2 separate regions of the Homo sapiens genome follow, and region 2 is linked to region 1. The links are contacts of gene promoters, found by promoter capture Hi-C in blood cells and fetal thymus (Javierre and others, 2016). All regions are on one chromosome and are shown on one strand. Each heading gives the region's core, a stretch centred on a gene start or on the middle of the fragment in contact. The rest is flanking DNA. Distances are from core to core; before and after follow the strand shown. Region 1 holds the start of MSI1 (musashi RNA binding protein 1). Region 2 overlaps RNF10 (ring finger protein 10).

Evidence for each region. Contacts are between HindIII fragments. The CHiCAGO score rates a contact against its expected background, and 5 or more counts as called.
Region 2: a fragment that was not itself captured here is called in contact with the fragment with the promoter of MSI1 in region 1 in 2 of 17 cell types (naive B cells and total CD8 T cells); the score reaches 5.1 in naive B cells.

The regions. Positions count from the first base shown.
Region 1 is chr12:120,367,264-120,371,597 of GRCh38, reverse strand. It overlaps MSI1 (musashi RNA binding protein 1), which reads left to right and starts at 2,434. Exons shown (of 15, transcript NM_002442.4): 1 at 2,434-2,565; 2 at 2,725-2,765; 3 at 3,325-3,406; 4 at 3,506-3,590. The coding sequence starts at 2,507. It also overlaps the pseudogene RPS27P25. The HindIII fragment of the contact is 14,859 bases long and covers 949-4,334 here.
Region 2 is chr12:120,559,001-120,563,904 of GRCh38, reverse strand. It overlaps RNF10 (ring finger protein 10), which reads right to left. Exons shown (of 17, transcript NM_014868.5): 7 at 3,019-3,179; 8 at 835-960; 9 at 282-558; 10 at 1-95. Among named protein-coding and RNA genes, the nearest start is that of POP5, 20 kb to the left of the region's middle. The HindIII fragment of the contact is 487 bases long and covers 1,803-2,289 here.

The DNA of each region.
Region 1 (4,334 bases), core at 1,185-3,684:
TCCTTTTCCTCCTGTAGGCTGGCAGAGAACAGTGGAGCAGGCAACACACAAAACTACCGTTTGTGCATGGCTACAGACCATGGTGATTTTATAGCATCCTGGGCATGTCATATCCATGAAGTAGGAATCGGGACTCTGCACCAGGCGTTTCTTCTTCTGTTTCCTCTTCTCTTCTGGAGAAGGATGAAGGAGATCCCTGTCGAGAGGCATGTTCTCGTGGGTAGGTCGCCACTGCCGGAAAGGACCCATTTCCTATCCTTCAAGCTCATCTGCCCAGCAGCACCAGCACACAAACCAAAGTCCAGGAACACTGGAAGATCCCTACTCCCCGCACCTCTCCAATGACCCTTTTTAAGTTCAGACCTAAGAAGAGTCACCTCCCTAATACCGCAGAGGCTACCTGCTCACCCTCATCTGTGTCTCTGCTACAACACAAACTGGAATGCTTTTGTGTCGGAATGGTAAGAAATGCCTTGTGTGGGTGGCCCTCCAGTCCCCAGTCCAGGGGATGCTGAGAAACTGTGGGGCAGAGTAGGGGACACAAACAGGAAAAAGCAAGTTTGTTTCTAGTGTTATGCTCACAGGGTGGCAGGATATACCTGCTGAGCATTCCCAGAAGGTCCCCAAGGAAACCATTACTGTAAGTCTCTCACTTTCTTCTCTGCCTGATGGTTGGGGTGGGGAGAGGGAAGGAGGGCTATCAAGAGGGGGATGGGCACCCTTCCAGAGGTCAGAGTTATGATGCCCAGGAATAAAAGGTGTTGAATTCAGGATGGAATGTGAAGGTGAACAGCAAAGGGCTTGTCAACATGGGTTGTCACTGGATTACACCGGATGGATTAAGGTAGGGATGGGGGAAGGAGTAGAAGGTGAGTTGGGAGGGAGGGGCTTGTGTGGCACTGAGACCCCCAGCAGGGATGGGGAGAAGGGGTGTTGGCCACCTAAGCTTCCTGGTTTGATCCTTTTTTGGCTGGTTTCAGCTGGGGAAGTGAAGGGTCCTAAGGCTTGGATATGGAGAGGTGGGAATATGGAGAGGTGGGGATATGGAGAGGCGGGGATAAGGAGAGGTGGGGATAAGGAGAGTGGCCCCGCAGCTCCCCTGGTGAACCAGAATACTTTCTCAGGGTTGTTCCCAGGCTGGAGGGAGGGAATTTTAGGGGTACGTAAGGTGACTCCAAGGAGCCTTGGGTGCAAGTACTGGGGGATCCCAGAGACCCAGAAGATGGGGGTAGAAAGGAAGGTGTTTGCCTTCACGGGGAGTAGCCTCAAAATAAGAGGGACTGAGGGAAGTCATTCCAAATGCAGTGGGTAGGTAGTTTAGGCTCTTCCAATGGGATGGGGTGGAGCTTAGACCTCTGCAAAAGAAGGGGGTCATTCGGAGGGGACGGTGCACAGCTGAGGCGTTGGGCTCCTAAACTGGAAACAGGAGGCTCTAAGAGGCACTGCCTTTTCCTCCAGCCTCGGTGTGGTGGGGGTGGTGAGTGTCTGGAACCGGGTTTCCCGAATCAGGACAGGAGTCTGAATGGATCTCACAAAAACCGGCCAGGGAGGGAGAGAACCAGGGGAGACTCCTCACACCGGGAGGTGGGGGTGGCGGCAAACTGAGAACCCGGGCTTGGGGCGCGGGATTTTCTCAACAGACCATAGGGTCCACTAATGTGGACGGCAGGGATTTGGGGAAACTAAGGGGGACTCTCACTTTGGACACCAAGGGCTGAGGACGGATTGGGGAAGAGGATACGGTTTCTACTGGGGTGCTGATGGAGGTTCCCCACTCGGGACGCGAGGCACTGAGTGGGTCCCCCAAACTGGATATGGGATCCTGGGAACGGAGCGAGGGCTCTAAATTAGAGCCCTGGGGTGGGGGTGGGGGGCTGTAAATTAGGTTGGGAGGAAACTGGGGGCTCTGAGGGCGGCTTCTCGCTCCGACTGGGGAAATGGAGCATGTGGGGACTGGGGAGCACTAGGGCTATCTCCCGCCCGACCCGAGGAGATTGGGGTTCTCTTCAATTCTGGACAGCAGGGACCTGAGAGGGAAGACCGGGGGGGTTCCCGATCCGGAACCGAGCTACCTTGAAGGCACCGGGAAGCGCTTCATTCCGGGAGGGCGTTCCCGCGGCCGGGCCCCCGCGCCGGGGTGGGTGGGGGGTGCGGCCGCGCCCTGGTCCCGGCCCGCACCGGGATTCGGGGGTCTCGCTCGGCCCCGGAGACCCAGGAGCCCCGCGGGAAGGGGGTCCCGGCGCCGCCGCCTCCGCGGGCGCCCGGGCTCGCGGGCGAGCGCGGGGCTTTATGCGCGCAGGGCGGCGGGGGGAGGAGCCGGCAGGTCGGCCCCCGGCGGGCCCTCCCCTCGGCCGTCCCCGCCCGCCCGCCCGAGCGGGGTCGGGGGAGGGGGCAGCATGGCCTGTCCGTCCGGCCCCCTTCGCCGCGCTCCTCATCTGCCCCGCGCCGAGCGCCGCCGCCGCCGCCGCCGCCGCCGCTCCGCTGCCCGCGCCGCCCGCGGCTCCCGATGGAGACTGACGCGCCCCAGCCCGGCCTCGCCTCCCCGGACTCGCCGCACGACCCCTGGTACGGCCCGGCCCGGCCTGCTTGGCCCGCGCCCGCCCCGGCCCCGCCAACATGGCCGATCCGGGTCCGGCCGGGCCTCCCCGGAGCCCGGGCCCGCGCCCCCTGCGCCCTGGCGCCCGGCGCTCACGCGGGCCCTTTGTGTCTCTCCTCCTCCCGCAGCAAGATGTTCATCGGGGGACTCAGTTGGCAGACTACGCAGGGTGAGCGAGCCCGGGAGCGCCCGCCGGTCCGGCAGGGCACCCCGGACCCCCCGGCGCCCCGGACCCGGACACCCCAGCCCGGCCCTGCGCCCTGCTGACCCCGGGCGCCCTCGCGCCCTCTTTCGCGCCCCGCCCGGAGACCCCGAGAGCGCAGGGCGATCCGCGAGCGCACCCGGCCCAGCGGGTGGAGGGGAGCAGATGAGGGGTTCAGGGGGTATCGGGGGGTGGGCTGGGCCCCCGGGACCCGCCGGCGGCAGCGCCAACTCCGCTCGCACCTGCGGCTCAAACTTTTGTGAGGCTGCTCCCGGAGCGGCGGGAACCCGGCCGGAGCCGTCCCCCTTCCAGCCCAGCTCGGCCCTCGGCTTCCCGGGGCCCCGGTGGGCGCCAGGAGGCTCAGCGGGAACGGGGCGAGGGCGGTGGGGGGCGGCGGCAGTGGAGAACGCGCGGGCAGCTTGGCGCGGGGGCGGCCGGGCCGCTCCGGGGTCACCGGGGGCAAAGGACGGGGGGGGGGGAAGGGCGCGGGGCCCGGGCTGGTCCGAAGGCGGGTGTGTGGTTACAGAAGGGCTGCGCGAATACTTCGGCCAGTTCGGGGAGGTGAAGGAGTGTCTGGTGATGCGGGACCCCCTGACCAAGAGATCCAGGTGAGCCCCTCACCCCCTCCTCCTGCTCCCGGCTCGCCCCCCTCCACCCGCCACTCACTGCCTTGTAACCATCTGCCTCTCCCTCACTACGGCGCGCAGGGGTTTCGGCTTCGTCACTTTCATGGACCAGGCGGGGGTGGATAAAGTGCTGGCGCAATCGCGGCACGAGCTCGACTCCAAAACAGTGAGTGGCCCTCGGGGCTTCGGGGGTCCTTTGGGAGAGGGAGGCTGCCGGAGGAGAGGGTCAGGACTCTCCCCAGGGGACAGCTGGACGGGGTCCATGAGGAAGGAGGGAGTTTTTCTGAGTAAGAGGGCTGCCATGCTCTGAAACTTTGTCACTAGAGTTGGGGGGGAGAGGGAGGAGAAAAATCCCTGGCCTGCCATGAGATGCTACATCCCCCCTCCCCTAGTCCTGGTGAGGGGAGAGGCAGCCGCCACCCTCTCCCTAGAAGTACTAATCATGATGCCTCAGAGCAGAGCTTGGGGTGGGGCTAGGTCCCTCCCCCAGCCCAAATTGGGTGAGTCAGGGTAGCACTGACCCACCCGGTGGCTTCTGTGAACTCTAACTAGTATTTGGCTCTGCGACACCCCCTCTTCATCCAGACCAATGGCAAAGCATCCCTTGAAGCCCCCTCCCTCTCTCCTTCCCTCCTCCCCCGACTTTTGGTCAATGAGCTCCTTGCTTTGTGTGGAAGACAGGGACCTGCTTTGCCCACGGAGGGGATTTATGAGAAAGGCTCTAGCTTGCCTGGAAACGACCCTTCGGAAGACTAGATCTTAGGAGAAGCTGCTTGGTTGGCATTCAAACTCATGGAACATTTTGCTGTTGTCCCACAGCTCCTTCGTGTCTTAGACCCTGCAGGGGGCGCTGGCTCCAGGGCAGATGGAAAAGTAGAAAAGTCAGAGGAGGGGGTTACTCCCATGTGAT
Region 2 (4,904 bases), core at 797-3,296, 190 kb before region 1:
TGAGATCTTCTCGGGGCTCCTCTCCAGGCTGCCGTACTCCCGCACGAGGCAGCGCACATTCACAGGGTGCAGGAACATATGCTGTCCATCTTCCGCTGAGGACAAGGGGCTCTATCACACACCAGTCTTGGCCAGTCCCCAGGAGGCTCCCCACCCCTCCCCATGCCCAAGGGCTCAAGCCACCCAAGCCACAGGATCTAGTGGCGCTCCTCTGCTTAGAGCACCGGGTCACCTCTGAAACACCTCTGCGGCAACCCAGCCCTCTCTTCCGGCACCCTCACCTTGGTAAAAGTAGTAACAAGGAGAGCTGCTGAGGCGTGTGAAGCCTGACTTGGTGATGGGTTCCTGCTGGCTGGACTCAGTGCAAATGGTCCCCTCTTTAAGATTGTCATCTGCTAACTCCAAGTCATCACAGGCCTCTGGCAACCCCTCAGGCTCTGGTTCAGACACTGCTTCCTCCTCTTCTACCAGAGGGAGAGCAAGAGGTCTAGAAGGAGTGTCCAGAGAACAAACTTCCGTGGTTTCTTCATCGAAGGCAGACAGATACTCCAGCACACCCTGTTGCAGCAAACTCTAAGTCAACAGAAAGGATATCTCCTGCTTTCCGAAAGCAATGTGGCAAATGCAGACCTAAGAGCCAAGCTCCCTAGATGTTTATCTTAGCTGTCGTGTTCACTGATTTAACACCCCTGGGGAAAGAACTAATAACAAGCATACAGAAAATACTCATTGTCCCCTCTTCTCTTGAGAAGGTTTAGATCTCACAGTAATGCCTACCAGCTCAATGACAGCATTTGAGGAACGGCAGCCACTTAGTAACAGGAACACACTAACCTTCCTGGGTTGAAAAACAGACTCCTTCGCCAAGGGAGCCATCAGCACCAGTTGTTCCAGAGCAGCCACAACACCAGTGACCTCCCTTCTGCTTCCGGCCAATCCCGACAGAGCCTCTTCCCGAGTCTAACGTGGCCAGAGAGAACACCAGAGAAGGTTAAGTTTCCAGACACACACTTAGCTTGAAGGGCAAGGGCTTAGAATGGCCTCTCAACAGGACCAAAAGTTAAAAGGCAATGAGACCCAATGGGAAGGAATTAGGTGCTTAAATATCTCAACTTTGAGGGAAACAGGAAGCAAAAAGCATGCAATACCCACTAAGGATTGGAATCTGCTTAGAATCTGACACTGGGGAGTGTAAATTAGTTCAATCATTGTGGAAGACAGTGTGGTGATTCCTCAAAGACCTAAAGACAGAAATAAAATTTCACCCAGCAATCCCATTACTGGGTATATAGCCAAAGGAATATAAATCATTCTACTGTAAAGACACATACGGCCAGGTGTGGTGGCTCATGCCTGTAATCCCAGCACTTTGGGAGACTGAGGTGGGCGGATCACCTGAGGTTGGAAGTTCAAGACCACCCTGACCAACATGGAGAAACCCCATCTCTACTAAAAATACAAAATAACCCAGGCATGGTGGGGCATGCCTGTAATTCCTGCTACTCAGGAGGCTGAGGCAGGAGAATCACTTGAACCTTGGAGGCAGAGGTTGTGATGAGCCGAGATCACGCCACTGCACTCCAGCCTGGGCAACGAGAGCAAAACTCTGTCTCAAAAAAAAAAAAAAAAAAAAGAAAGAAAGAAAAAGAAAAACCAAATATCGCACACATGTTCTCACTTCTAAGTGGGAGCTAAATGATGAAACATGGACACATAGAGGGGAACACACACTGAGGCCTATCAGAGGGTGGAGAGTGGGAGGAGGGAGGGGATCAGGAAAAATAACCAATGGGTACTAAGCTTAATACCTGGGTGAAAATCTGTATAACAAACCCCCATGACACAGGTTTACCATGTAACAACCTGCATTTGTACCCCTGAACTTAAAAGTTAAAAAAAATAAAAGAGAATCTGACACAAACAACACTATACAAAAAACTTCCAGAACAGAAATCTAAGAACATGAAACTAACCTAGTTTTTACAAACTATGCTCAGACAGAGGTCCAGAGTAGTAGGAAGGATTTAGCTAACTCCACCTCAGCCTGGACAGCTCTAATTCTATGTAGCCTTTCTTATGCCTGTAATGGCATTTGAACAAATACGGCTGCAACGTATTATAGAAAGAAAGCAAAAGTTAAATACACAGGACTCTACCCAAGGAGCCCTTGGGAGTCAGGGAGAAGGGAATTCAAATACCAGCTGCATCCCTTACTAGCAAATTACCCAACCCAGGATTCAGTTTCCTCATCCATGAAAGGGGATAGTTCTATCTACCACACTAGAAGCTTAAGTGAGATAAATGTGTATAGCACAAGTCCTATCAAATGCTGATCACTCAATAAATATGGGCTTCTATTGCTCTAAGCTAGATCAGTGGTTCCAGGAGTGTGGTCTGGGGATGAGCAGCCATCAGAATCACCCTAGAACTTGTTATATGCAAATTACTGAGCCTACTGAGCTTAACCTATGCAATCAATATCTCAAAGTGGGACCTAACAACCAGTGGTTGTGATGCTTCAAGAATCTCTGTTGTGGAAGATAAAAGACCCAGGGAATTCTGTTCTTGTGTAATTCTTGCCGTTTCAGGTACTCCTAAGGCATACTGGGCAGGCCATAATACTTTCTCCACAATGTCTTTCAAAACACCTCTAGAATAGAATCTTAAGTATTTTCCCAGAAAACAAAGAACTCTAACTTGCTTTAAGAACATAGCTAATCTAAAAAACTCCACTGTCACAATTAGTTATAAAATCATTTTGACTTGCTCCTTTCAGCTCTAGAAAGAGCTTTAAAAGCCCTAGGTTAAACCTTCTCTACTGTCATCAAACAAAGCCCAAAACAAATTGGCTTTTTTAGCCATTCTCTGCTTATTGTCTTAAATGTGGAATGGAACTAACTTAATCCCCAGCGTCCATCATCTCACCCCCGACAGAGTGAAAAGGTTTAGCATTTCTGGTTTTCACCACAGAACGCCGAGAAAGTGAAAAGGTTTAGCATCTCCAATGCATCCTCTCACCTTGAGCTCCTGGATAGCTGCCTCAATAAAGCAGGACTCGGGAGTGTGCTTCTCCTCTGCCAGCTGCTGCTCTAGTGCTACTTTCTCCTCCAGAACTACCCGGTGCAGCACCTGCTCCTTAGAGGCCAGCAGCAACTTGGAGTACTGGCTGTGCTGTTCATCTATAAGAATGCCAGCAAGATCAAAGAAATGCAACATTCAAAGCTCACGATGGTGTAGCTAAATAGGAATTTTCAAATACAGCCTTTTCTCTGGGGTGAAAATGGGGTAATTTAGCATGATTTCCTAGAAAATAATTTAACAATGGTCTTAAAATAAGGTCTGTAGCTCTGCTCTTGATATAAGAAATCTAAGAAACCCAGAGATGTAGTCAAAACTTTAGTCACGCGTTTATTGTTACAGCATTGTATGTAATATCAGAAAAGCTCAAACCAGCCAGGCACCATGGCTCACACCTGTAATCCCAGCACTTTGGGAGGTCAAGGCGGGTGGATCACTTGAGATCAAGAGTTCGAGACCAGCCTGACCAACATGGTGAAACCCCGTCTCTACTAAAGATACAAAAAAGTTAGTCGGGCCTGGTAGGGCATGCCTGTAATCCCAGCTACTTGGGAGGCTGAGGCAGGAGAATCGCTTGAACCCAGGAGGCAGAGGTCGCAGTGAGCCAAGATCATGCCACTGCATTCCAGCTTGGGCAACAAAAGCGAAACTCTGTCTCAAAAAAAAAAAAAACAAAAAAAACCACACACAGAAAAAGAAAAGCTCAAACCAACCAGTAAAACCAACAATAAAGAATAAAGAAATGGTGGACCAGCGCAGTGGCTCACACCTATAATCCCAGTACTTTGAGAGGCCAAGACAGGAAGATTGCTTGAGTTTAGAAGTTTAAGACCAAGCCAGCTGGGTGTGGTGGCTCACGTTCAGCACTTTGGGAGGCTGAGGCAGGTGGATCACCTGAAGTTAGGAGTTCGAAACCAGCCTGGCCAACATAGAGATACCCTGTTTCTATTAAAAATACAAAAAATTAGCTGGGCGTGGTGACGGGCGCCTATAATCCCAGCTACTAGGGAGGCTGGAGTAAGAAAATCGCTTGAACCCAGGAGGCAGAGGTTTCAGTGAGCCAAGATCGCACCATTGCACTCCAGCCTGGGCAACAAGTGCAAAACTCTGCCTCAAAAAATAAAATTAAAAAAAAATAACACCAGGCGGAGTACGGTGGCTCACACCTGTAATCCCAGCACTTTGGGAGGCTGAGGTAGGCGGATCACAAGATCAAGAGATTGAGACCATGCTGGCCAACATGGTGAAACCCCGTCTCTACTAAAAATACAAAAACTAGCCAGGTGTGGTGGTGCGTGCCTGTAATCTCAGCTACTCAGGACGCTGAGGCAGGAGAATCTCTTGAACCTGGGAGGCGGAGATTGCAGTGAGCCGGGATTGCACCACTGCATTCCAGCCTGGCAACAGAGTGAGACTCCATCTCAAAACAAAAACAAAAACAAAAAAAGCACAACACACACACACAAAAAAAACAAAAATTAGCCGGGCGTGGTGGCAGGTGCCTGAAATGCCAGCTACTCAGGAAGCTGAGGAAGGAAAATCGTTTGAACCGAGGAGGTGGAGGTTGCAGTGAGCCGAGATCACACCATTGCACTCCAGCCTGGGAAACACAGCAAGACTCCGTCTCAAAAAAAAAAAAAAAAAAAAAAAGAGTAGTTCAAGACCAGCCTATCAACATAGCAAGACCTCATCTCTGCTAAAAATAAAAATAAAAAATTAACTATACCTGCATGCCCAGTTAATTTTTTAAAATAAAAAAAATAATTTAAAATTAAAAGTTAATTTAATTAATTAAATTAATTTTAATTATTTTAATGAATTTAATT